7 separate regions of the Homo sapiens genome follow, and regions 1, 2, 3, 4, 5 and 7 are each linked to region 6. Evidence: promoter capture Hi-C in 16 types of primary human blood cells and fetal thymus (Javierre and others, 2016). All regions are on one chromosome and are shown on one strand. The core of a region is centred on a gene start or on the middle of the fragment in contact, and the rest is flanking DNA. Distances in the headings are between cores, read along the strand shown.

Region 1 (4,061 bases), core at 556-3,055, 420 kb after region 6:
TTTGAGAAGTGTCTGTTCATATCCTTCACCCACTTTTGGATGGGGTTGTTTGTTTTTTTCTTGTAAATTTAAGTTCCTTGTAGATTCTGGATGTCAGATGGATAGATTGCAAAAATTTTCTCCCATTCTGTAGGTTGCCTCTTCACTCTGAAAATAGTTTCTTTTGCTGTACAGAAGCTCTTTAGTTTAATTAGATCCCATTTGTCTATTTTGGCTTTTGTTGCCATTGCTTTGGTGTTTTAGTCATGAAGTCTTTGGCCATGCCTATGTCCTGAATGGTATTGCCTAGGTTTTCTTCTAGGGTTTTTATGGTTTTAGGTCTTACATTTAAGTCTTTAATCCATCTTGAGTTAATTTTTGTATAAGGTGTAAGGAAGGGGTCCAGTTTCAGTTTTCTGCATATGGGTAGCCAGTTTTCCCAACACCATTTATTAAATAGGGAATCCTTTCCCCATTGCTTGTTTTTGTCAGGTTTGTCAAAGATCAGGTGGTTGTAGATGTGTGGTGTTATTTCTGAGGCCTCTGTTCTGTTCCATTGGTCTTTATATCTGTTTTGGTACCAGTACCATGCTGTTTTGGTTACTGTAGCCTTGTAGTATAGTTTGAAGTCAGGTAGCGTGATGCCTCCAGCTTTATTTTTTTTGCTTAGGATTGTCTTGGCTATGTGGGCTCTTTTTTGGTTCCATATGAAATTTAAAGTAGTTTTTTCTAATTCTGTAAGAAAGTCAGTGGTAGCTTGCTAGGGGTTGCATTGAGTCTGTGAATTACTTTGGGCAGTATGGCCATTTTCACAATATTGATTCTTCCTATCCATGAGCATGGAATGTTTTTCCATTTGTTTGTGTCTTCTCTTATTTCCTTAGCAGTGGTTTGTAGTTCTCCTTGAAGAGAAGCCCTCCCACAGCTGGAAAACCATTGACATAGTTCTGTTTTTACTAACAGCTGTCCATCCTTTCTTTCTCTTCTCCATTTATAGCTAGACATGTGGAGTAAGCCACCTAGGTCATCTGCTTTATTTCTTTAAGACCCATCCATACTTTCCTCATTGCAGTACTGAAATTATAGTCTTTGTGGTTGCTAATGATCATTCTAATTGCTAAATTGCTTTTCTTAAGTCTCCATGCTTTATGAATGCTACATCATTTAATACCTATGTATACTCTTCCATTTTGATATTCTCCTCATTTTTGATCATGACTTTATACCACCCTCATGTTTCTTTCACTTTTCAGATGACTCTCTTTTCCTTTGTTGATCCCTCTTTGTTCTTTCAACTGCTTAATTTATGAGAATTCTCTAGGACTTATGTGGTTATCTTCTCGGTTTACAGTTCCTTTCCAGTGAAGTCATCCTTTTTTATTGCTTTATTTGTTGCCTTTGTATATGAGTTATTTCCAGATTTATATCTCAAAGTCTTCACCTCTTTTGCAAGCTTTAGTCCTGTGTATCTAACAGACATTTTAAAAATAGCAAATTAATCATCTCCTGGTTAATTTTTCTTTCCCAATATCTTTGCTTTTGGCAGTGATATACCTGCTAAAAATCTTTGAGTCACTGCTCCTTCCTCCTTGATCACTAATAACAAGTAACCCAGTCCCTTTGATGACATTTAATGATTGTATATTAAAATTACTGGTTGTCAGTCTTGCACTATACCTTTAGTGCCCTAAATCATTTAAATTCATTTTGCGGCTCTAGTGTCTCCATGGTCCAATTAATTTTGTCCACTGCTTTCAGGTTAATGTGGTTAAATATGGAAAAGGTAAAAGGTGACAGATTTTTGCAACTAGTTGACTAGAAGAATAATAATGTCATAAACAGGGATAAGAAAGACAAGAACAGAAGCATTTAGAAGATAGGCGCTGTGGTTAAAAGAGTTTAAAGATTATCTGGAGTCAAATCTAGCCAAGGGCCAAATGCCAAACTCAGTGAGCTTGGCCCAGTATCGAATGGTAGGGTGGTGATAGATAATCCTAGTGAAATTGTATGGTATGCCATTGGAAATGAACTGAAACTTGGGAGAAAAGTCATGAGTAGGGAAGTAGCTGCATAATACCTTCTGAACATTTTTATGGGAAGTTAATAAAATCTCTTAAAAGGATACAGCTTAACTTATTTGATTATTTTGATATGAAAATGCAGATAATATCTTTATTACAAATACCATTGAATTATTTAGTAAGCTTGGAATTTATGGGCAGAACTAGAATTGTTGTTATAAGTGAACCCCTATTATTGTATATTTCCTGAATGAATGATGTCCTGTGAGAAATACTATACTTGTATTTAGTATACCTTAACTCCACTTGTATATAGCAATAAGCCAAACAGTAAGATGGCTCTGTCTATCATATGCTATTGCAGAAACTTTAAGATAGATACAAATAAATACATAATAATCTTATTTCCTGACTCTTATCAGGAAAGATTTGATATGTTTTTAATATCACAGTGACACTGGTATCTGGAGCTGATGTTTCATCTCTGGAACAGAATTATTAATATAGGTCATTTTGTGGTTGTGGAATATTTACTTAAAATCATTCATTTCAGGCATTTTGAAAGTTGGTTGTAAAATTAGCAAGACTTCAGGAGTGTAATTTGTCTTTCTGTTTCATTTTTAGAGTGTTCAACCAGATTCTTCTTCTCCCAGACATGTAAGTCACTCTTAATATGGCTGTACATTATAGGTCCTTAACATTTATCATAATATTTGTGGTTTGTTTTTTGTTTTTTTGTTTTGTTTGGAATGCATCAGCCTGAACTAAAATTTATGTTATTATTTTCCTCATCTATGTTTTGACACACTACTAGAAATATAGGTGTTTTGTTAGCTTGAAATAAAATGACATTGTACTTGTGGACTCTAAATCTTGGTTGAAAATGAGCATGATAATTCACTTTTTGATAGTCTGTTTCAGGGAGTAGACATGGTTCTTATAAACTCATGATTATTTGTGTTTAATACATTTTGAATAATAGCTTATGAATAGGTATTGAAAATAGAATTTTGAAGTAGGAAAAACTTTATATTATTTCACTTGAGTAACCATTAGGAGCAAGAATAAAGAAGTAATACCTGAGTCTGGTGTTAAGACCATTGAATAAAAACTTTGTTATTCACTTCGTGACTTTAGACAAAAATATTATCTGCCTAGCACTATTTATTGTGAAATGGGATCCAATTTTAGATGTAAATTGAGGTTTTAATAGAACAGAGGATATTCTATTTAAAGTAGTTCAAAAATAGACTTCATGAATAGTTTATGATTTTTTTCCTTGAATATAATTTTTTTAATCCTTTCACTGGAATAATGAATAATGGGAATGGATGAGCAAAATAAAACAAAGAGGCAAGTGTGGTTTTTGTTTTTGACTGATTACTGTTTTGTAAGAATATTTTTGAAGTGTAATGATATATGGAAACATTGCTTTTCAACTTTTTATTTTGACGTAATTTCAAACTTAAAGTTGGAAGGGCAGTACAAAGAATTTCAGATACTATTCATCCAGATCCCCAAGTTAACATTTATGATATTTGCTTAATCCCTTTCTAGCACATGATCATTTTTCCTTCTTTCTCTCTGCTAGCTGACATGATGCCCCTTTATCTCTAAATATCTCAGTGTGTTTCTTAGAAACAAAGATATTCCTTTATGTTAGTTAATTCAAGATAATTATCAAAATTAGAACATTAACATTGGTACAATGCTGTCTTCTAATATATAGATCTTATTCAAATAGGTTTTGCCCATTGTCTTCATTGGCAATAGAAAGTCCTTGATTATGTTTAGTCTCTTAAATCTCCTTTAATCTGGAGCAATTCTTTGGAAGCTATCTTTCATGATATTGAAATTTTTGATAGATATAGGCCAGTTATTTTATAGACCATCCCTCAATTTGAGTTTGTCTGATGTTTTTTCTTTAAAAAAATTTTTTTTTTTATTTTTCACCCTGTCTTATGGTGCTGATGATGTTTCTGATTTGATAAGGCCGTGCTTTTTAAAGTAGGAATACTGCAAAAGTGCATCATATTAGAAAGCACATACTAATTTATCCTG
Region 2 (3,728 bases), core at 831-3,330, 450 kb after region 6:
CTTATGGTATCTGCAAGTTTTAGTTTTACCCTTGTGGAAAATTGAACTCTAACATCTCTTCCCAAGATTAATATATGAATTTTACCAAATACATATTAGCAAATACTGATTTGGCTCCTTTGAAAGCAGCATACCAGGTTGTACTTTATGTATGTCTTTCTGTTGGTGACCCCTTAATGACTGCCCAGTGATATACCTTCTTTTGTATTCTTCTGGTGAACCTCAGTTCTCTAATTGAGGTAATCTAAATGTGTCTGCTAGGTTTTTGCGAGGGTTTGTTTGGCATCTGTGCTCAGATGAATGTCAGTGTCCTTAACTAGTTTTCCCATAGATTCAGCCATGCTGTTTATTCAGGCTGCTGTCTCGGCCTTCTTCTCTACTCCACTGAACCCCTTTCTGGGAAGTGCAATATTCATCACTTCATATGTCCGACCTGTGAAATTCTGGGAGAGAGACTATAAGTGAGTAAAGTAAAACACTTGAAAAACAATTTTTATCTTTCCTACTGGGAAAAACTATTGACAGCATTATTATTAGAATTTATGGTTCATAATTTATTGTGTTGAAATATTTATTTTTGCTAAAACTTAATAAATAGTCTTAAAATTTGAAAAGTATATAAAAGAAGAGGCCAGAGGAAATTACTTTTTATTTTTCTTTCTTTCCTTTTTTTTTTTTCATACAGGGTCTCATTCTGTTGCCCAGGCTGGAGTGCAGTGGTGCGTCTCTGCTCACTGCAACCTCCACCTCCTGGGGGGCTCAAGTGATCCTCCTGCCTCAGCCTCCTGAATAGCGAGGACTACAGGCTTGAGCCACCACGTCGGTTAATTTTGGTATTTTTTGTAGAGATGGAGTTTGACTGTGTTGCCTATACTGCTCTCAAACTCTTGAGCTCAAGTGACCCACCCGCCTCAGCCTCCCAAAGTGTTAGGATCACAGGCATGAGCCACTGTGCTCAGCCATTTTTTCCTACTTAAAAGATATTTTTAAACATTGTTCTGATTGAATATGTTCATGTTTATATTTTTTCTTTCAGTAATATTGAATTATTTCACATTAATAATACTCTGCAACTTTATGCTATATAATATCGTTATAACAGTCATAATGAGTTATAGTTTTCTTAGAAATACCTGGCTATTTCTAAAGCTAAATTTTTATAGGTTATTTCTGCTATTTTGAGAAGATAAGTTTGTAATGACCATCTTTGTGCATGAAGTATTTTCTCCATTTAGGCTTAGTTCCTTGGGCTAGCTACTTAATCTGAAGCTTAGTAACTATCCTTGTATGTAATCTCTCCAAATTTCATTTTGTTTCAGAAAGCGTTCCTAAAAGGGAACGCTTTTAGGAGTTATGAGTTATGGAGCATAAACATTTTTAAGGCTTTTAATATAAACACATTGGTTTAGAAAGAGCTTGTACTAATTTATAATTCTACTGACCATCTCCATGACTGCCTTTCTCTCTATACTTTCACAAATTGGCATATTTAATAGGTGAAAATTGTAATCTCACCTTTTAAACAGTGGGCTAGTTTGTAGGTTTGAAACTTTTACTCTGGTCCTTTATCTAAAACCACACATGATATTTCCCATTTTGGTGAATTTTGGTGTTATTAATTATTATTCCTCTGGACCAATTAGCCCAAAGTAATGTTCAGTGGCTGCAGTTCTTAACTTTTTGGATTTAGAACCCCTTTATACTCTTTTTTTTTCTTTTCTTTTCTTTTTCTTTTTTTGAGACAGAGTTTTGCCCTTGTCATCCAGGCTGGAGTGCAATGACACAATCTCGACTCACTGCAACCTCCGCCTCCCGGAGTGCAATGGCGCCATCTTGATTCACTGCAACCTCCGCCTCCCAGGTTCAAGCAATTCTCCTGCCTCAGCCTCCCGAGTAGCTGGGATTACAGGCGCCCACCAGCACACCTGGCTATTTTTTGTATTTTTAGTTGAGATGGGGTTTCACCATGTTGACCAGGCTGGTCTTGAACTTCTGAGCTCAGGTGATCCACCCGCTTCGGCCTCCCAAAGTGCTGGGATTACAGGCGTGAGCCACTGTGCCCGGCCTTATGGTCTTAAAAATTATTGGAAACACCAGAGTTTTAAAAATATGGATTTTATCTACTAATATTTACTAGAGTGGAAAGAAAAACTCAAAAATTTCAAATGTTTACTTATTAACTAATTTAAAAATAACAATGTCGTATCTATTGTATATTAGCATAAATAACATTTTAAAGTTAAGAATAACTATATTTCCACTCCCCCAAAAAATTAGTGAGAAGAGTGGCATTGTTATATAGTTTTGCAAATCTCTTAATGTCTGGGTTATTAAAAGACAGCTGGATTCTTGTATCTACCTGTACATTCAGTCAGGTGCAGTATATTGTTTTGATTGAAGTAGCTGAAAAAAAAAATTCACCTTCACTCACCATGTTGGCCAGGCTGGTCTCAAACTCCTGATCTGAAGTGATTTGCCTGCCTTGGCCTCTCAAAGTGCTGGGATTACAGGCATGAGCCACCTTGCCCAGGCAAAAAAGAAGTATTCTAATAGCCTTTTAAGACAATCATGGATATTTTTCTTTGATCTTTCACTGAAACCCAAGAAATGGGAGCTTCTTAAAAGCTACTTGCAATATGGAATCTAAAACCATATCTGTGAACTTGTGGGACTATATTACATCAAAATTCACTCATCTGTCTTATATCCTGAATGGATCTTTTACCCATGCATAATTTTTTAACATTTTGTGTTGGTCATTTGGAAAATACTGCTTCACTGAGTAATGTAGATTTTCTAAATGTTGATACATTTTATTATGTAGTGAATTTTAAAATATGTTCATTGGCATCACCACCAATCGGAAAGAAATTTTAATTATTGGGAAGTTGTCAAGCTTATGGTGGTAGATAGGAGTTTCCCAAATTTTAATTTTTGCTTGAAAATTTGGATTTTTATTATTGTCAACAAGTATTGCCAGTTGTTTTCCTTGAAATAACAGGCTCACTTTCTTTATTTTTGGGAAATATCTGTTAAATGACCACATCTAAATAATCTCATAATTTTTCCATCAGTGTTAAGTAAAAATGGTGTTCCAAGAAAAAAACGCAGCTAGTTCAGCTCGGAGTTCAAGCAGTTGCACAAATACTTGCCCTCATGACAGCCGTTGTACTTCAGAAGGCAGCAGAAGTGCTTCATACGTATTTTCTCATTTTGCCATACAGAGTATTAAAAAGGCCTTTACTGTGAGTTGAGATTTATTAAGGTTAATACTTTTTATTGCTTCATTAGGGACATTTTTTTGTGAAACTTGGACTTTTTGTTTGCTTTATTGTGCAAGTGTGGCAGCGAAGGGTAGAACAGTTTGGTGCTGCTGCCTTGATTAATGCCCAGGCACCACAGTCTTACCTACCATTGCTTTAGTACCACCAGTGCAGTTGTCAACACAGTGTAAAAAGCAAATAACAGCTCAGTGTTACTTTGAAAATAGTTTTGATCTGGAAAACTGCCTGAAAGAGCCTTAGGTTCTGTGGACCACATTTTGGGAACTACTGTTCCAAAGAACATTGCATCACTGAGCATTAATACATACACCTTCCTTTGGCAAAGAATGTTCTAACCTCTTTGAATTTTTAAGAACCATATACAGTATACATTTTTTTCATCCTGGTCAGCTTTTTTCTCACAGTGCATGCCTAGATGTCTTTCCATACACTGTACAATAAAAA
Region 3 (4,247 bases), core at 1,572-4,071, 380 kb after region 6:
ACCTGGGAACACTGCAGAAAACAAAGAAGAGAAGAGTGATAAGTCAGCTGTTTCTGTGGATTCCAAAGTGCGTAAAGATGTTGGTGGAAAGCAAAAGGAAGGGGATGTTCGACCTAAATCTTCTAGCGTAATCCATCGGACAGCTTCTGCCCACAAGTCAGGCAGGAGACGCACAGGAAAAAAACGGGCTAGCAGTTTTGATTCAAGCCGGCATAGGGACTATGTTTGCTTTCGAGGTGTTTCTGGTACCAAGCCACACAGTGCTATATTTTGTCATGACGAAGACTCTAGTGATCAGAGTGACTTGAGTAGAGCATCAAGTGTTCAGTCTGCTCACCAGTTCAGCAGTGATAGCTCTTCTAGCACCACTTCTCATTCCTGTCAGTCTCCTGAGGGCAGATACAGTGCTCTAAAGACCAAACACACTCATAAAGAAAGGGGCACAGACTCTGAACACACACACAAAGCTCATTTGGTTCCTGAAGGAACCAGCAAAAAGCGTGCAACACGACGGACTTCTAGCACAAATAGTGCCAAGACTCGTGCCCGAGTGTTGAGCCTGGACAGTGGCACAGTAGCATGTTTGAATGACTCAAACAGGTTAATGGCACCTGAAAGTATAAAGCCCTTAACCACTTCAAAATCAGATCTTGAGGCCAAAGAGGGAGAGGTGCTAGATGAGCTATCTTTATTAGGACGGGCTTCCCAGTTAGAGACAGTCACTCGATCTAGGAATAGCTTGCCAAACCAGGTTGCATTTCCTGAAGGGGAAGAGCAAGATGCAGTCAGTGGAGGTAAGTAAACTGTAAGAAGAGATTTCTGTAAGACTCACTGCTTTTTCATACTATTAATTAGAGTAGTACTTACTAAAATATGCTTCTGTTAATATTCCCCCTTCCACTGTGTTATTAAAATAAGCTTTCTTGAATGAAGAAGTAGGTGATTATCTTAGAAAAGGTTTTGGTATGAACACCAAGAACATATTTTTTGGTTGCAATACTTGAATACGTCAATTTGTTCTTGATGGTGTCAAGAACACCAGTTTCTAAGCCAGTTGCCACCTGTTAATGTTTTGCTGGGAATAACAAAAATTAGCCCTCTTCCTTTGTATAGCAATAGCAACAATAAAATATATAATTATTTAAGGGCACCAAACCAGTTTTAATCAACTCTTATACAGTATATGACACTGAACTTTCAAAATTAGATCACTCAGCCTATTATATAAGAGTTTTACAAATATTACTTTAGATCTGATTATGTACATTGAGAATTGTGGCTCTTTTTTTAAGTCTGTATCTTTGGTTTTATTTCTTGCTTACTCAAGTTTTAGGCGTTACGAAAATACTATTTTTTTCTATAATTTCACACATTATTCTTAAAGTTTATTAAATTCAGATTTGTAGTTTATATTGACATTTGGTATCCATTAATTGATGTAAGATGCCCCCATAATAACAGTGATGGTGTTCTGGTTAAAGTAATAGCTTATTTATTTCAGGTTTTTGGAGAATTGTGCAAATTTGGATAGGTGATTTTATATTCTGTCAGTGTGTGTTGGCCTCTTTATTTCAGAGTTATTTCTTGCTGTGTTCTTCTGCCCAAGATAGTTTGTTTATTTGGTTCTGGTTTTTATGGAATCTGCTTCTTGAATAGAATCAGAAAAATCAGGTCTTTTGTTGTTAGTACCTTAGCATTTTTAGCCTCTACCCCTATTCCCTTTATTTATGCTTGTATCATTAGTTTTAAAGTTATAGTCTGTTTGATACAGTAATGTTCAGTCATTTATTAAAAGTTAAGCTGGATTTTGTTTGTACAAACATTATGAAACATATGAATATATGCTTTTTCTCAAAGATGTTAATTTCACCCGAAGTATTTTAAAAGTCCATATTGTGGTAAACATTTTCTTAGATTTTTTTGGGGGTCAAGTTTCTAGCCAGATTAATTTCTAATGGGAACGTAAAGAAATTTTCTAGTACCTAAAGAAGAATATAGTTTATCAAACCTAAATATTGAGAACTAATTATATCTGAAGTGGTTATAACCATTTGGTGACAGTAGAGTAATTAAATTCCCTCGAGTCTTTGACCTGGATATAGTTCTCTCTTTTTTTTTTTTTTTGTAAACAACCTGAAATGCTTGTAGTGATTTCTCACACAAATCATATCAGATATGTTCACAGTATGCAAGAAACCATTGGATTTTAAAATATAGCTTAATTTTTAAAGTTATCAAAATGAATTTTAAGTCAACATGCTATGATAGAAAAATATTGCTGTTCTGAATATTGTGGAAATGTAAATACTGAAAAAATGTGTACAAAAATATGTAGTAAATTCATGCGTTTATATTTAAAATGTCATTTCCTTTTCATGGGGACTGTGAGGTGTTCTGTTTTTTAGGAAAAGTTACCTGAAAGGTGTTATTTGCTTCTCGGTGCTGTTCTTTAAGCTATATTAGCCCTTGTTTTTCTAGGCTCTAGCTTTTGTTTTCTTTTGTTTGTACTGCTTTTTTTTAATTTAAATAACTCAATTAAATGTTAATAAGAGATAATGAAATAAAAATATCTGCTTTGGTGGAAGAAATGTAATAGTCTGTGGGCTGTTTAAAAACATTTTTTTGCCTGGGGCAGGCATTGCACAGGCTTTTTTAATTTGAGCTTCATTGGGTTTAGAATACAAATAAGAGCAAAACTAAAGCACTTAAATGTGTTGGGGGTTTTTTAATTGGTTTTTATCATAACTAAATATAGGGGTTTTGTTGGGAGTTTACTTGGGCTTTTTGAAAGGTTGGAGGTGGTAGAAGGGGATTTGTTTTGGTTCTTATTATTTAAAAATTACAGAGACTCTCAAATACTGTTTAAAGATACTTGTTTATGTTAACATTATCTGTTACAGTCCTGTCTGACAATTTAGAAGAAATGTTTCTGGGCTATCCTTCCTTACATACTGTACTACTGAAACCTGTCAACCATCATGTTACTGCTTGGCCATTCATATACCTATGCATAAACCATAGGTAGATTTTATCCTAAAGAATATGAAGGTGTCGATAAGTTCTCCAACGATTTCTTTTCATTTTATTTTAAGGTAGGTGGTGGTGGTAGTGTAGAGAGATGGAATTTAGGAAATAGACTTTAAAGTACTAAAATAAAGTATGCTAAAATAGGAGGTAATCTAGTTTAGTGACATGGAGTCAGATACCTTTGTTAGTATGTGGGCTCCACTGTTGTGACTCTAGGAAAGCTACTTACAAACCTCAGCTTCCTCATCTTAAAATGAGATGATTATAGTATCTATCTCATAGGGTTGTTGTGAGGACTAAGGAGTTAAGTTCCTGGCACACAGTAAATGCTTACTAGTGCTGCTGTGACTGTTCAAGGCCAGTTAGTTATGCTGCACAGTGTAGCCTGTCGTTTAACCTTACTAATTCAGTGGTATAAAATTAAAGTAGAAGAAAGTGATTAAATGTAGAAATAAACTAGAGATAGTCTAAGTGTGCCATTGTGAAACTCAATAGTAAAAATAAAAAATTCTGATTCCCTAGTTTCTTACATAATGCCAATAGGAAAAACATTTTTATTAACATCAATTTAGTGACATGGACCTTATTTTGGCAGTAATATGTCATATAACATCTTTTTTAGTCACGTAACAAGTGATTGTTTTCATACGTCCTGTCATTAGTCAAGTTCTTTGGTTAAAACTGAATTTCATCAATAATGGTTTGTGATTACTGAGACAGGAAATATGTTTTAAGTTCAAACTAAGTCATTTTCTGTTGATCTCTTGTTTTGTACTTAATTTTTCTTTTTAAATTATAAGGCATATCTTTATGACTAATATTTTAAGAAATGAAAACTACATAGAAGCTATATGGTAGAAAAATGTCCTGTGTTTTCTAGCCTGTATTACTTTTAAGGAAGTCGTTTTCTTTTGGACCGTTTAAACTTATTTCCTGTGTGATTCAATACTGTTGTTATAGCATATTTTCTGTGTCACTTAATGGATTACAAAGAATAGCCCGAGTGGAGAGGTTTGTGTTTACTTACTATTCTTTGTGCTTTTTTTCTGAATTGTTTAACTTCTATTTCTCTGTGAAATTTATTTTAAATATAATGTTTGAGTCACTATTCTGTAAGCATGAAATAGGATCCTAATATAATATTGTGTTGGGAACCAAAAATAATCTTCAAAGAAACAATTATTTAAAGAAAAGTCAGATCTTTTCAATAAAAATTTATG
Region 4 (4,276 bases), core at 861-3,360, 350 kb after region 6:
TTTTTCCTTATTCTTAACATGAGTACCCTGTTTGTTAATTAAACACGTATTTTAGCCTCATAATTTTTGTTTATTGCCTTAATCACTATCTGAAATTATCTTAACATTTATTTGCATTGATGAACTTCTTGAAGGTAATGACCTTATTGTTCTTATAAACTATTATATTCCCAGTTCCAAAATCAGTGTCTGGCAATGATAGGTACTCAGCAAATATTTGAAGTAGTGAAAACGATTATTCTGTGATATTATGTTTAATGATGCACAGTATCTCATTATGCCAATGTATTTTATCCTATTTTAAATTATATCAATCATTTTGAAATTTAAATATTAGATAACTGTGATGTTTAAATTTTCAATGATTAAATGTTCTATCATAGTTTTTCAGAGGTGGAATTACTAGAAATGCTATGCACATTTATAAGTTTTCCAATATGTATTGCCAAATTCCCAAGATTTTACCATTTAATGACTATGACCAGAAATTCAGCTGCCTCTTTTTTTTGCACTTTTGACAACTCTTGAGTATTTAGTATTTTGAAAAACTGTGATATCTCATTGTTTAATATTGTTTAATATGTAAATAAATTATTGTTTAATATTCCCGTTTTTGAATTACTAGTGAAATGGAGGTATTTTTCTTATTGCCATTTATATTTGTTATTCTGTGAATTGTATATTTTTCTATTGGTGGATTTTTTTTTGCTATTGATTTTGGAACTTTTTTTAAATAAAATATATTAGCTCTTCTGTGTCAAATACTCTTCCTCAGTTTATAGCATTTTATTTGTCAGTGTCTTTATATCCTGTAATTTATTTTTCTGTGGTCCAATTTTGTGTGTTTGTTATTTCTGCTTTTGATAACGTTTTCTAAGATTTTCCTTCCCTCAAATTATATAAATATACAATAAATTAAGATCTTTGTATCTACTTTCAGTATTTTTATCATTTTACTTTTTACTCTTAAATTGTTGTCAGTTTGAAAACATTTTAACTTAATTTGTTTAGGTTTGTTTATCACAACACCATTCATTAAGTAACAAATTTTTTCCCTGTAAATTTAGATGCTTTCTTTTTCATGTAGTATACTGTATATACTTATGCTAGTTTCTGAACTTAGTTTTCTGCTTCATCTTTCTGCCTTTTTTCATTTATACCATACTGTTTTTATCATAGTGGCTTTATAATATGTTTAATACTTAGCATTGTGAGTGACTCCAGTATTTTACTTTTTTGATATTATTATTTTTTTGGGGGGCGGGGGTTGGTTGGTTGTTTGTTTTGAGATGGAGTCTTGCTCTGTTGCCCAGACGAGTGCAGTGGTGCGATCTCGGCTCACTGCAACCTCCACCTCCCAGGTTCAAACGGTTCTCCTGCCTCAGCCTCCCAAGTAGCTGGGATTACAGGCATGCACCACCACGCCCAGCTAATTTTTGTATTTTTAGTAGAGACGGGGTTTCATCATGTTGGCCAGGCTGGTGCTGGACTCCCGACCTCAGGTAATCTGCCTGCCTCGGTCTCCTGAAGTGCTAGGATTACAGGTATGAGCCACCACACCTGACCTTTTTTGATATTATTTTGATTATTCTCATGCATATACTTACTTTTGTGAGATATCTTCATGTGTGCTTATCCTCCAGAAAATTTCGTTAGAATTTTGATGACAATTCTATTAAATTGTAGAAACTCAACTTTTAAAATAGGGATATAGATGAGAGATTTCCATTTATTTTCTTATGTTTTTATTTATCATCTCTTTATTCACTTATCTTTTATGTCTTATAACCTTTCACATTTTTTAAATGGTTTCTGTACATTTCCTACGCCTATTCTATTTCTGTTAAGAAATGCATATTCGTACATTGTGGATAAGTGGACAGAATGTAGACTTCACACTCAGTCAGTCAAGGCTTCTTAATTGTAAGACATTGGAGAAGCTACTTAAGCTTTTGAGTTGGCTTTCTTGTCAGAATGATGAGGAAAATAATGGAACTCTCTCATAGGATTATTACAATGAATAAATGAAATAATATATAGAGAGTTCTTAGAATAATTCCTGACACATGGTAACACTTGATAATTGTTCTAATTATTTCTGGATATTATATATATTTGTCATTGCTTCTGAATTGTTTTTTCCATTTTCTTTTACTTTAAAAATTTTTTATTGTGAAATATGTATTCCAAACACTAAGTTAGCAATAATCAAGTGACTACTTCATTACCTACCACACAGCTTAAGAAATAAAACATTATAAAAATACCATATAAGCTTCATGACATTCCTCTCCCATTTCATTCCACTTTTCCCTTCAGGAGTAACCATAATCTTGAATTTTTTGTGAATAACTCCCTTGCTTTTCTTTATTGTTACACACTCTTCGTAGATATTCCTGAATATATTTATTTATTTTTGTCTGCTTTAGGACATCCTAAGAGAATCATACAGTATGCATTTCTCTATGAGAGATTTTTTTTTTGCACAGTATATTATACTTTATTGACTCACGCATGGTGATGTTTGTAGCTAGAGTTTATTCATATTGACCTACATGTAGTCTGCCACTGTAAGAATAGACCATAGTCTATTTATTCATTCTTCTATTTATAGCCATTCAGATTATTTCTAGTGTTTTTTGTCTTGTGGTACATGTGTATATCTAGTTTATGTAAGCTGGTTTATAGGGCATTTTCATGTTCAATTTTATCAGGCAATTCCAAGCTGTGTGCCAAAATGATTTTACCAGTTTATACTCTCACCGGTAGTGTATGAAAGTCCTTATTGTTCACATCTTCATCAACATTTGATATTGGTAAACCTTAAAAATTTTCCATTCACTTAGCTATTGATTTGGGATTTAAAAGAAGAAAATTGGCTGGGCAAGGTGGCTCCTGCCTGTAATCCCAGCACTTTGGGAGGGAGAGATGGGAGGACAGCTTGAAGCCAGGAGTTCCAGATCAGTTTGGGCAACATAGTGAGACCTTGTCTTTACAAAAAATAAAAAATAAAAAAAAATTTTAGCTAGGTATGGTGGTGTGCACCTGTAGTGCCAGATACTTGGGAGGCTGAGGCAGGAGGATCACTTGAGACCAGGAGTTCAAGAGTTCAGTGGGCTTTGATCACACCACTGCACTCCAGCCTGGGTGGCAGAGCAAGACCCTGTCTTGAAAAAATTTGCCATTCATGAAATGTAAAAGGTGTCTCATTGTGACTTTCAGTTAAGCTTTCTGATTACTACTGAGGTTAAACATTTTATTTTTTTATATATGGTCCATTTAGGTTTTTTCTTTTTTCCAATGCTCATTTATGTTTTGTTTCATTTTTCTTTGGAGCTGTCTTTTTCTTAATGATTAATAGGAATTTTTTATTTTTTTATATATTCATGCTATTCCTTTATTAGTTATGTATATATTACAGTCATCTCCCACTTGTGGCTTGTCATTTTGCTTTCCTTAAAGTTTCTTATGATTATCATATACTCTTAAATTTAGAACAATGAAATTTACCACTTTTTAGTAATCAGGTTTTTTGTTTTTTGTGTTTTTTTCTTTCTTTTTTTTTTTTTTTTTTTAATGAATTGGAGTTTCACTTTTGTCGCCCAAGCTGGAGTGCAGTGGCACAGTCTCAGCTCACTGCAACCTCTGCCTCCTGGATTCAAGCTAGTCTTTTGCCTTCCCTCCTCAGTAGCTGGGATTACAGGCATGTGCCACCACACCTGGCTAATTTTGTATTTTTAGTAGAGTTGGGGTCTCACCATGTTGGCCAGGCTGGTCTCAAACTCCTGACCTCAGGTGATCCACCCGCCTCAGCCTCCCAAAGTGCTGGGATTACAGGCGTGATCCACGCGCCTGGCTAGCATTTTTGTGTCTGAATTATTTTCTACACGGAGATCAGAAAGGTATTCTGTATTGTCTTTTTGAAGTTTCATGTTTCTTTTGTTTTCACATTTCAATTCTACCCAAAGCTATTTAAGTCTGTAGTATCAGGTAGGTTCTTAAGGCTTATTTTTTTCTTTATGAATCTCTGATTTACCCAGTATTTGTTAAGTGGACTATCTTTTCCTTAGTAATTTGCAGCAGTCTCTATGGCATAAGCTAAATTTTCATTTCTGGTGGCTTGTTTCTGGGCTCTCTGTTCTGTTCTGTTCTGTTCTGTTGATCTGCTTGCCTGTGCCATTACCATACCATCCTTATCAGCTTTAAAACATGACTCTTGATAGCCAGTGGGTTAAACCTCCTACCATATTCTTTTTTAGGAGAGACTTCGCTATTC
Region 5 (4,072 bases), core at 1,570-4,069, 310 kb after region 6:
TTAAATATTCTTTAAAGATTTTCTTTGGCACTTAGAAAAAAATCCAGAATCTTTATTAAGCCACCAGAGCTTATTCTGCCTTTGTTTACAGTTTGTGCAGTTTTCCCACTGTGCTGTAGTCACACTGGCCTTTCTGTTACTTTAGCCCACTGAGCCTTTTCCTCCTGTGAGACCTTTGCACGTGTTGTGCCTTCTGAAAGGATACTCTTCCTTCTTGCTCTTTGCAAGGCTGGCTGCTACTTAATCTTTAGGGCTGGACTTCAGTATTATCCCCTCACAGAGGCTGAGCCTGATAACCATAAATAGGTTCCCTCTCTTTTTTTTCATCATTCCATTCCATAACTTTCTTCCATAGCACTTAACACAAACATATATTTTTTGTTTGTTTACTTGTTTGTCCTCTCGATCATCCTCCACTTCCATACCTTGTAAGTTCCATGAGGGCAGGGGCCAGGTCTGATTTACTCATCAGTGTTTATCAAGTGTCTGCATGACTGCCTGGCTCATATTAGGATCTGAAGAAGTATTTGTTGAATGAATTTTTTATTATACATGTGAAGCTTTTTTAGACTTGTTAACTGATGTAGAATAGTTGGAGGTGGAGGGAGGATTGTGGTAGGCTGTATCATATGGTGGAGCTGCTTACTTAGGGGTTAGGTTCGGTGTCAGTCTCTACAAGACAAAAATCAAATATAAAATTACTGAAAAATCAAATACAAAATGACCCTTGAAAAACACTTAAGTCATTGAAAGTGCAGTACGTATGGCTTTTTGTGCATACAGCTGTGTGGTTATACATACATACATGATATATACAGTAATATATACCACATAAATCTGTGGAGAGATTATATTCAGACTCTAAATCATTAACAAAATTTATAAAGGTTTCAACATTTTCTTCCTAGTTGTCTTCATTGTTTTCTGTAACTGATCTTTGTCATCTTTAGAATGATATATCTTTTATTAGTGAGGATTACGCTAAAGCTCTCAGGTCATTTTCTTTCCCCCAATTTAAAAGTATTTAAAGATCATTTTAAACAAGATTTAGTTAGGGTGACTAAAACAGGGATTTTCATATTTTAAAATTTATATTTCTCTAAAAGTTTAGATCAAGCTAGAAAAGTTACTGTGCTATAAATTAGCAATTTATATTGCTATTGCATATTGTACATATGATTTTTAAGTATTATTTTCTGCATCCTTTAGGGGAAGGTTAATGACTAGTGGATGGCCTGTTTAGATCTATTAGCCTGTGCCCTTTACCAGTATTTTCAATATTTAGGATCAAAGTGAGTCTAATTATTTCCATAACTGGTCATGGCACAGATATAACTCTTATGTATTATATTACCTATAATAAATTAAGGGTACACTGTCCAAAGATGGTTTACACAGAAAACCATCTACCACATGTTCTCACTTATAAGTGGGAGTTAAACATTTGGATACCCACAGATACAAAGAAGGGAACAATAAATACTGGGGATTCCAAAAGCGGGTAGGGGGCGAGGGTTGAAAAGCTATACATTGGCTACTGTGTTCACTACTTGGGTGACAGGATCATTAGAAGCCAAACCTCAGCATCACTTAATATGCCTATGTGACAAACCTGCACATGTACCTTGCTGAATCTAAAGGAAAAGAAAATTAGACCTCCAAGAAAGCAGCCATATTTGTCAATTTGTAGAAAAGTGTATTAATTTACAAAAAAAGCAGTTGATTTATAAAATGTTCTGTCTTTTGTGACGTAAAGGTGGAGTGTTTTCTCCCACTTGAAAATTACTCCAAATCATAAAATCATTTGGTGATTGGAAAACTAGGAAAGTTTCTATTTTTTTTCTAGCCTTTGAATACACAGATTCAGTCAGGTAATTTGCTTTCTCTAGCTGACTTTACTGAGAGTTAAATCTTTCAACATTTTATTAAAGAATTTTCAAACATATAGGAAAGTTGAGAAAATTGTACCCACCACCTGGATTCTGTGTTTTTAAATATTGTGTCTCTATCTGTTTTATTCCTCTATCTGTCCACCCTTTTTTAGGGAGATGCATGTAAATTAAGTTACACTTCTATACAAATCACCCCTAAACTCTTCAGCAGGTGCATTGTCAGGTAGGTTCTAAAGGCACAATCTTCAGTGAACCATTCGATGAGTTTTGATAAATGCACACGTTTGCGTAGTGTAGACTTGGCATGTTGTAGAATATCAGCGTCACTCCAGATAGTTTCTGCTTGACCTTCTGAGTCAGTCCTCTCATCCTTGTTCTGACTTTTTTTCATTATAAATTAGGTTATCCTGTTCTAGAATTTCATATAAATGGAATCATGTAGCACATGCTTTGTGTAAGCCACCTTCACTCAGCATAACGTGGTTGAGATTAATCCATGGTGTTGTATCAGTAGCTTTTTTCCTTTTTATTGCTGAGTAATATTCCTTTGTATGACTGTGCTACAGTTTGCTCACCTTTATCCATTCCCGTGTAGATGAGCAGCTAGGCTCTTCCCAGTTTTTGGCTACTATATGTAAAGATGCCAACATGAGGATAGGTTTTATCAGAACTCAAAGACACTGGAAAACTTTACGGAATCTCAAAACCCTTTTCTCTTTCCAAATAAGACCATGTTTTAATTTAAAAATCTTTTTGTTCAGCTGTTCTGATTTATTTGTCTAAATCAGAAATTATAGATAAGTAAAAAGAAAATACAGCCATTGGTAATTCCATCACCCCTGTCTGTAGAACATTTTAGTAACCAAAATATATTTGGAGTTTTAAATACTACTTTGATTACAAAAATGGGCTCATAGAATTCATACTGTTTTCAAGTCTCCTATTTTCACTTTAAATTATGAGTGTTTCCATGGGTTGGGGGTAAGTGGCTTTTTAATAGCTCTGCAGTAGATCATATGTGTTACAGTTTAATCATTTACCTCTTACTGGTTATGTAAGTCATTTCCAGGTTTTAGCTATTTAGAAAACAGTAGGGTGAATACTCTTGTAGTTAAATATTTGTACTAGTATTTTGTATAAATTCCTAAAAATAGACTTGTTGGATTATCTTCTTTGATAAATACTCATTTTACAAATACTGAGTGAATCTTTATATTGAGAGAGAATATAAATATGAGAATGAGAAATGGGTAGATAATGCAGGGTTCCTGGAATACAAAATAGGATTGTGGTCCAGAAAGCACATGTGTTAAAGGATTATCCTCAGAGCAGGAAGGAAGGAGGCAAGGATGAAGGGATAAAGGATGAAGGATGAAGGGATAAATCATGGAGGAAGGGATAAACAGTTCATGGGAAAAGTTGAGGTTCATCTTTTATGATTTATGTAATCTCCTTAGAGGACAAAGTGAGTGTGTTCTGTTGAGAGTGAAAGAGGAGGTGAAGAGGATATTTAAGGTTTGAGGGAGATCCCCCAAATGTGACATGCTATTCTTACTTTTGGTAAGTGGAAAAGTGAACTATCAAGGGATGGTAGGATTGTTGAACAATTTTGAAGGTATCTTTGAGATTGGAGAACATGAATTCAGAGTGTCGAAGAGGAATGTTCAGGAGAGAAATCTGGGGTAAAATTTACTTGCAAGTTATCAGCATGTAGATCTTCTGGGAAGAAAGTTTATCTCATTAAAAAGAAAATGGCCTTGGACAGAATTCCAAGGCCTAAACAGCATTTAGAAATCAGCAAAGGAAGACAGAGTTGTAAAATGAAGACGAAAAAAGAGCCAGGGAAAGAGAGTACAGGCGTACCTTGGAGATATTGCAAGTTTGGTTCCAGATCACTGCGATAAAGCGAATATTGCAATAAAATGAGTCACAAATTTTGTGGTTTTCCAGTGCATATAAAAGTTATATTTACATTATGCTGTAGTCTGTTAAGTGTGCGGTACCATTGTGTCTAAAAATACAATGTATATACCTTAATTAAAAAATACATTATTGCTTAAAAATATGCCAAGGATTATCTGAACCTTCGGCGAGTTGTCATTTTTTTGCTGGTGAAGGGTCTTGCCTAAGTGTTGTTGACAGACCAGGGGGTGACTGTTGAAGGTTGAGGTGGCTGTGGC
Region 6 (3,827 bases), core at 300-2,799:
CTATACAATACTGGTTGAAAAACTTCAATCTCTCTTATACTGTCATTACCTCAGGCATCTTCAAAGAAGTCAGACCTAATTCAAGGTGACAGGCAGTTTTGAGCCAAGTGACTCAACCGAGAAAAATTATATAAAGGTAAAATGTACTTTGTGTGCTATAAAATAAAGGAGGAGACAGATGAAGTGCGTTAATAACCAAATAATTAGTATAGACCATTTAGATAGTTCATCATAACTGGATCATGCAATAACCAAATACACAACAGGCCAGGAAATAACATTTTCAGAAATGGCCTCCTAACTGGTTTTCCTAATTCTACCCTTGCCCTCCTACACTGTTCCCAGCAGCCAATGTAGTCCTAAAAAAAAGTCAGATCACATCATTCCTCTGATGGAAACCCCTCCAATGGCTCTGCGTTTTACTCAGAGGAAAAGCCAAAGACCTTATCATAGCTTTCAACACCTTTCTGACTTCATCTCCTTCCCACATCCTCTCTCACTACCCTCCAGCCACACTGACCTCCTTGCTGTTCCTTTAACACACCAAACACACTCTTATTTTAGAGTCTTTGCCATGATCCTAACAATCTGAATTATAAGTAAAACATTTTATAAACTAAATATTTCTCTTTTTTATTCTGTAGCAAGGCAACATGTTGACATAGCCCAAGCATTCTAACAGCATTCTAACCATCAGCAAGTGATGAAATAAATAATGAAAGACACGTATGTAAAATCATGATCCAGAAGTGCTGCAGATCGCCAGATAAGTATAAATGAGAATATTTGTAATAAATGTGTTAGACCCCAATCCAGTTAATATTAAAAAAAGGCATCTCAAACATCTCCCTTTAAAAATCAAGTACTATATACACAAAAACAACTCTACATGCTCCCCAAGATCAAGCAGCAGTTAAGGGGTGACATCTCCATACATTTATTCACTGACTGATTCAATATTTGAGTACTTCTGCAGTTCAGCTGTGAAAAAAATACGACCCCTGCCCATAATAATTGCTGGACGTTCGATGTAAAGTATTATCGACTCAAAAAAAAAGAAAATATCTGGGATTCATGCTCAGGGACCCGTGTGGCGCGGTCTAAAGAATTAGGCAGCCACCATGCCAAGTCCCAAGAGATGAATCAAATCAAGTTGGCTTATTACCCCATTCCCTTCTCTGCCTAAACGCCATTCCTTCACTCCAATAGAATAGCCCTAATGTTGTTGCAGAGATACGTGTGTAGAACAAAACTCCAGCTCTGAAAGCTCAAAACCCAGAGCTTCTTCCAACCCCTTCTCTCCGACGCTTCCAAGAGACGCTCCAAGAACTCAGAAAAAAAAAAAAACTCGTCAACGTTTCGCTAGATCACAGCCTTGGGTTGTCCACAAAAACCACTCAAAAAAGCTTGAGACTTCACACAAAGGAACCTAAACCTTGAAACCGCGAGCTATAACATCCCAAACTGGTCCACAGACAATCAAGAGACAAAATATAGCAATACAGTATACCTCGGATATCCACCGCCGCCATAATTCCGAGAGCGTTTACAGGTTCTCTTTCCGGCGCAAAGTAAACGTAAGCCTAGGCCGCCGGAAGCAGCGGGTTGAAGAGAGTGCGCATGGGTGAGGAGGGACGTAGAGCGGAAGAGGGGGCGGGGCGGGCAGGAGAGAGGCAGGGGGTGGAGGTGCGGGTGGGAGGGGAGGAGACGCGAGGGGGCGGAAAGCGGGAGAGGCGCGGGAGGCGGGAAACGTGGGGTGGGGTGGGGTGGGGTGGGGTAGGGGAATGGGAGGGGACGGGACGCAGAAAGATTGGTGCAGGGGAGCAGGGAAAGACTAGAAGAGGGATGGGCCAAAGAAGGAGAACGGGAGGGCGGATTACTGGGAAAAAAATTAGAAGACTTAGAGGACAGAAAGACCGAGTGGAGTCCCGCCCCACGCCCACCACTGATGGAAGAATTCTGCCTTGATCGTCTGTGATCGTCAAGAAAACAAATTCTGATGCTGTAGAGTTGTGCTTGGGAGTGTCTCTTAATTTTAAAAGCTCCCCGGGTGTATCCACTGAGCTATCAGATTTAGGAACGATGGTCATTTATATTTTTCTCCCTGCCTCAGGTATTGGGATGGGACAGGACTTAAGAATTTGGGAGTCATTGGCTTTTATGTGACTAAATCCATTAAAAATCTAAACCAATTAAAGAAGCCTCTGAGAAAAATTTCACAACACAGGAAATGCTTCTGAAGTGAAATATTAATAAGATTAAGAGAAAGGGAATACCCCTGGGTCCCAGAGTAATGAGCAAATGTCTGCATTCCAAGTAGTCTGGAGTAGGTAGCAAGGCTCCAAAGAGGGAATGATTCTGTGTACGGGGAAGCTACAGAAAGCCTCAGATTCTCAAGCTTCAGTGTGGCTCTGTAAAAGCAAAACGATACAGAAATATGCAAACAACACACAGATACTAGGAAGAGGATGCCAAAATCTGAAGGAGGGATGAGGGCGGGTGCCTACATCTTCTCCAAAACTTAGGTACTGTGAAGACTCCCCAAGAATTTAACCACAACCCAGGAGCAAGAGGGGAAGACCAGAAATTTAATTGGGATTTTCAACCTCATAGACAAGGAATTAAAAATTTGTTAACTCCGTAGAATAAAAGTACGTTGCCTGTACATTTCAGTTTGGGAATTTTCTGCCTGAGATGGTATGTATAAAATAGGTGTCCCAACAGAAGTATGTGCATGCACAGAGTAAAGTTTTGAGAGAGAATTTTTCAGGAGGGCCTGGTTGGGAGCCTAGTGGGAGGACATTGCAAAAAGGAAGAGTATCGTGTCCAATAAAAAGTGTGATCCATAAAGCTTTTTGTTTTGTTTTTCTAGTTTTTTGTTTCCTTGTGTTTTGATTAGGCTAGAAGGAGATTAGGAAGAATAGTGACAGAATGCAGATCTGTAGATAATAAAACATATGGTATGCATGGTAAATAAGACCTGGAAGCTCAACCTTTATTTTGTAGGCAATGGGAGAAATGTGATCAAGCTTCCATTTTAGAAAGATAACTTGAGGAAGACAGGGCAAGGTGGCTCACGCCTGTAATCCCAGCACTTTGGGAGGCCAAGATGGGAGGATTGCTTGAGCCCAGGAGCTGGAGACCAGCCTGGTCAAGATAGCGAGATCCCATCTCTATTTCTTTTATATTAATTGTTTCAGTTAATAAAGAAATATAAATTAAAAAGTGTGGTAACAAAAACAAGAGAAGACAAGATAGGGAGGAAGCCACTTTGGGTAGGACAGTCAGGACAGGCCTCTCTGAGGAAGTGATACCTGAGATGAGACCTGGAAGATGAAAGCAAATCACTCATGTGAAGAGCTGGGGCACAAGCATATCAGACAGAGGGGACCATGGACCCTACAGTGGGAAAGGGGTTGGTCTGAGAACCACAGAAAGGCCAGTGTAAGCCGGGTTGTATGAGTGAAGGATGAATGATGGGAAAAGAGACTGGGAATGAAGGCAGGGGCCAGATGATAGAGAGCCTGGTCAATAATTTATTTTTTATTCAAAGAACATAGGAAGCTATTAAAAGATTTGAATGAGTAGAATGCCACAAAGGTTCTGACTGGAAATTTGTTTATGGATGTCAAAAGTATTTGTTGTGCTTATTGAGCCACTTACTATGGACGAGGCACTGTGCTAAGCACTTTGACGAACTATCTAGTTGTTCCCTCAAAACAATTTTATGAGGCAGAAGCTATTACTCCCATTTTTAAATGAGGAGACGGACTGAGGCAGATGAGCTAGCTTTTCACCAAACTTATTATCTACTTGGGTATACAGCT
Region 7 (3,674 bases), core at 257-2,756, 400 kb after region 6:
ATGGAGTCATATAGTATACAGCCTTTTGTATGTACTTTTCCTGTAGTGTAATGCTTTTTGAGATTTCATCATACTGCTTGCATGTGTGAGTAGTTTGTTCTTTCTTACTGCTGAGAATTCCATTGTATGAGCAGGCTGTATATTGCTTATCTGTTCACCTGGCGATGGTTGTGTTGTTTCCCGTTTTTGGCTGTTGTGAATAAAATTTCTGAACTGTCTTTTTGAAAAGAGTTCTACATCCCCACCACCAAATTCCAGTAGTTCCCTTTCTTGCCAACATTTGCTTTTGTTGGCCTTTAGAATTGTAGACATAATGGGTATAGAATGGTAACTCATTGTGGTTTAAATTTGAATTTCTCTTATGACTAAAGATAGTAAGCATCTTTTGATGTGCTTATTGGCCACATACATATATATCTTCTTTTGTGAAGTGTGTCCAGAAATTTACTCATTTTAAAAATCGGGTTGTTGGTTGTCTTCTTTTTTTTTTTTTTTTTTTTGAGACAGAGTCTCACTCTTGTTGTCCAGCCTGGAGTGCAGTGATGCAATCTCAGCTCTCTGCTACCTCTGCCTCCTGGGTTCAAGCGATTCTCCTACCTCAGCCCCGCAAGTAGCTGGGATTACAGGTGCGTGCCACCGTGCCCAGCTATTTTTTTATTTTTGTATTTTTAGTAGAGACGGGGTTTTGCCATGTTGGTCAGACTGGTCTCGAACTCCTGACGTCAGGTGATCTGCCCGCCTCGGCCCCCCAAAGCGCTGGGATTACGGGCATGAGCCACTGCGCCCAGCCTGGGTTGTTGGTCTTCTAACTGTTGAGGTATGAGTTCTTTTGATATTTTAAATACAACTTATTTGTCAGATACAAATTACAAATATTTTCTCCCATTCTGTGGCTTGTCTTTTTGTTTACCTGACCAGTCTTAATGTCATCAATGTCGTTATTATAGATTATTTTACCCAAGTAAGAAGAACTTGTCTTTTTGAAATAAAATGTGAGTGGATAATGAAATCACAGCAAAATATGAACTTGTACATTCACTTTTGGAAAGTTCAGCTGATTTGGGGATTAGCAAGCAGGAGTGGAGTTTTTAACAATTAATTAAGGCATGTTTTATTAACTCAGAACTAGATAATCAGATAGCCATGTCAGTAAAATATATCAGTATGTAAATCTCACTTATAGTTGCCAAGCAATAGAGATATCTGTCTTTCCTTACCAGTCCCCAAAGCTGTCTTCTAAACCAGACTTTCTTCTTATACCTACCTTTTCCTTATCCTTCTGATTTAAAAAGCTAGAACAGCATTGCACATACTAAGAAAAAAGACTTGTTCTAAATATTGAAACTTGAAGTTACAAGGACATAGTGACCTGATTTCCATTGTATCATGAGGATTAAAGAAGTTTTTGGAGCCTAAGATTCTTGGTCTAGGACAGGTGTTAGTAAACCACCGCCTGTGGGCTAAGTCCAGCTCTATACCTACCTGTTTTTGTAAATAAATAAAATTTGTGTTTATGTTCTGTATTGTCTTATGCCTGCTTTCATGTTACAGTTGTAGACTTGAATTGTTGCAACAGAGGTTATCTGGCCCATGAAGCCTAAAGTATGTATTATCTGGCCCTTCACAGGAAAAGTTTTCTGACCTTTTTATTTCTCCCCTAATCTAGGGAGAAACAAGTCCATTAACCCAGGGGTCCCCAACTCCCAGGCCATGGACTGGCATGGATCTGCGGCCTGTTAGGAACAGGGCTGCACAGCAGGAGGTGAGCAGGGTGTGCGGAGCGAGCATTTCTGCCTGAGCTCCGCTTCCTGTCAGGTCAGTGGCAGCATTCAGTTTTCATAGGAGCATGAACCCTATTGTAAACTGCACATGCAAGGGATCTAGGTTGCCCACTCCTTATGAGAATCCAATGCCTGATGATCTGAGGTGGAACAGTTTCATCCTGAAACCGTCCTCCAATCCCCTGGATCCATAGGAAAGTTATCTTCCATGAAACTGGTCCCTTATGCCAGAAAGGTTGGGGGCCAGAAAGGTTGGGGACCGTTGCATTAACCAGTAAGCAGCAATATAGTGAGTAATTTCTGTGTGGGTAAAAACTGAGTCACCACTTATGATTATAAGGGGGGTGCTATCCAAGAAATTAGAATTGATCTTAAAGGCCTTCTCTTTAAAAGTATAATATATTCATTGAGATTGCATTATGAACACAGTGCTATCTCCATCAGATTATTTCTTGAATAACATTTCTATTATTGAGTACTTCAGTCATATAGAATGTATATGTTCCCCCAAATGTCTTTTAAAAACTCACTTTATACATTTACTGCCCATATATCTCTCTTTGTTTTTATAGCCCCTCTCTGCCCTATGAGTAATACTTAAAAAAAGAGAAGTCAGTGTAGACAGTGCATCAGGCTTGGAGGACACAGAATGAAGGGAAGGTTGGGGGAGGTAGGTGGTTAAAGAAGAAAATTATCCAAGAAATTTAAGAGACCTCTTTTGTTGTTGGTACTTGGAAGATTAGAAAAACACTATGGATGATTTGTTGTTCTAGTAACCACCTCCTTCCAAGATACATATAGGTAACTTTAGAAAAATGAGTGATGTCAAGAATGCAACAGGCTGGGCGTGGTGGCTAACACCTGTAATTCCAGCACGTTGGGAGGCTGAGGCAGGAGGTATCACTTAGGCCCAGGAATTCGAGACCAGCCTGGGCAGCATAGCAAGACCCCCATCTCTACAAAAAAGTTTTAAAAAGTAAGCCAGGCACTGTGGCGTGTGCCTGCAGCCCCAGCTACTCAGGAAGCTGAGGTGGGAGGATCACTGGAACCTAGGAGTTTGAGATTGCAGTGAGCTATGATTGTGCCATTGCACTCCAGCCTGGGTGACAGAGTGAGTCTCTGTCTAAAAAAAAAAAAGGGGGGGTGGGGAATGCAATTGGAGTTTCTTAGGTGAGTACTGTTCTTAAAATTCTTGATGTACTCAACTTCGTTTTGTATGGTGAGGATTTTTACTGATAGGGTAAGTTAGAGAATCCCATTCATTTCCCATGTCTTTTATCAGTGTCTTGTGAATGTTTATCAGAATTTGCCTGCTGCACCATTCATGGCTCTAGGCAAATGCTTCAAGTATCCTTGGTGTTAAGTGAGTATCCAGTTTTACTCATCTTCCTGTTGCTCATCACTTATTCATTGACCTATAGTTGTTACTTTGAAATATTACTTCAAAAGAATGGTTGTGTGTAATTAACAAATTTTATGAACAATAACAGTCACTATTGAGTATTCAATAAGACTGCTAAGAAATACTAGGTATCTTAACTTTTTTTTTTTTTTTTTTTGAGACAGGGTCTCACTCTCTTGCCCAGGCTGGAGGGCGGTGGCATGAACACAGTTCGCTGCAGCCGCAACCTCCTAGGCTTAAGTGATCCTCCTACCTCAACCTCCCAAGTAGCTAGGCCCATGGGCACATGCCACCACACCCAGCTAGTACGTGTGTGTGTCTGTGTGTGTGTGTGTGTGTGTGTGTGTGTGTGTGTGTGTGTGTGTGTGTGTGTGTGTGTGTGTGTGTAGAGATGAGGTCTCACTATGTTGCCTGGGCTTGTCTTGAACTCCTGGGCTCAAGCAGTCCTCCCACTTTGCCTCCCAAAATGCTGAGATTTACTGGCATGAGCT

Evidence for each region. The method cuts DNA at HindIII sites, captures the fragments that hold promoters and counts their contacts. A CHiCAGO score of 5 or more calls a contact.
Region 1: a contact is called between a fragment that was not itself captured here and the fragment with the promoter of MED6 in region 6, in 1 of 17 cell types (naive CD4 T cells). The highest score is 6.9, in naive CD4 T cells.
Region 2: a fragment that was not itself captured here is called in contact with the fragment with the promoter of MED6 in region 6 in 1 of 17 cell types (naive CD4 T cells); the score reaches 6.0 in naive CD4 T cells.
Region 3: a fragment that was not itself captured here is called in contact with the fragment with the promoter of MED6 in region 6 in 6 of 17 cell types (total CD4 T cells, naive CD4 T cells, naive CD8 T cells and 3 more); the score reaches 8.7 in total CD4 T cells.
Region 4: a fragment that was not itself captured here is called in contact with the fragment with the promoter of MED6 in region 6 in 1 of 17 cell types (naive CD4 T cells); the score reaches 5.0 in naive CD4 T cells.
Region 5: a fragment that was not itself captured here is called in contact with the fragment with the promoter of MED6 in region 6 in 1 of 17 cell types (naive CD4 T cells); the score reaches 6.0 in naive CD4 T cells.
Region 7: a contact is called between a fragment that was not itself captured here and the fragment with the promoter of MED6 in region 6, in 4 of 17 cell types (naive CD4 T cells, naive CD8 T cells, total CD4 T cells and 1 more). The highest score is 9.1, in naive CD4 T cells.

The regions. Positions count from the first base shown.
Region 1 is chr14:71,020,576-71,024,636 of GRCh38, forward strand. PCNX1 (pecanex 1) reads left to right here. Exons shown (of 36, transcript NM_014982.3): 13 at 2,625-2,657. Among named protein-coding and RNA genes, the nearest start is that of PCNX1, 120 kb to the left of the region's middle. The HindIII fragment of the contact is 751 bases long and covers 1,431-2,181 here.
Region 2 is chr14:71,051,552-71,055,279 of GRCh38, forward strand. It overlaps PCNX1 (pecanex 1), which reads left to right. Exons shown (of 36, transcript NM_014982.3): 24 at 332-461. Among named protein-coding and RNA genes, the nearest start is that of PCNX1, 150 kb to the left of the region's middle. The HindIII fragment of the contact is 1,627 bases long and covers 1,268-2,894 here.
Region 3 is chr14:70,977,855-70,982,101 of GRCh38, forward strand. It overlaps PCNX1 (pecanex 1), which reads left to right. Exons shown (of 36, transcript NM_014982.3): 6 at 1-794. Among named protein-coding and RNA genes, the nearest start is that of PCNX1, 73 kb to the left of the region's middle. The HindIII fragment of the contact is 3,810 bases long and covers 917-4,247 here.
Region 4 is chr14:70,950,109-70,954,384 of GRCh38, forward strand. All of the region lies in intron 2 of PCNX1 (pecanex 1), which reads left to right. All of the region lies in intron 1 of LOC105370557 (a long non-coding RNA gene), which reads right to left. Among named protein-coding and RNA genes, the nearest start is that of PCNX1, 45 kb to the left of the region's middle. The HindIII fragment of the contact is 326 bases long and covers 1,948-2,273 here.
Region 5 is chr14:70,912,693-70,916,764 of GRCh38, forward strand. The region is part of intron 1 of PCNX1 (pecanex 1); the gene reads left to right. Among named protein-coding and RNA genes, the nearest start is that of PCNX1, 7.3 kb to the left of the region's middle. The HindIII fragment of the contact is 4,522 bases long and covers 559-4,072 here.
Region 6 is chr14:70,599,106-70,602,932 of GRCh38, forward strand. It overlaps MED6 (mediator complex subunit 6), which reads right to left and starts at 1,550. Exons shown (of 8, transcript NM_005466.4): 1 at 1,511-1,550. The coding sequence starts at 1,532. RefSeq lists an enhancer at 1,052-2,251. The HindIII fragment of the contact is 992 bases long and covers 1,405-2,396 here.
Region 7 is chr14:71,002,601-71,006,274 of GRCh38, forward strand. The region is part of intron 8 of PCNX1 (pecanex 1); the gene reads left to right. Among named protein-coding and RNA genes, the nearest start is that of PCNX1, 97 kb to the left of the region's middle. The HindIII fragment of the contact is 5,736 bases long and covers 1-3,674 here.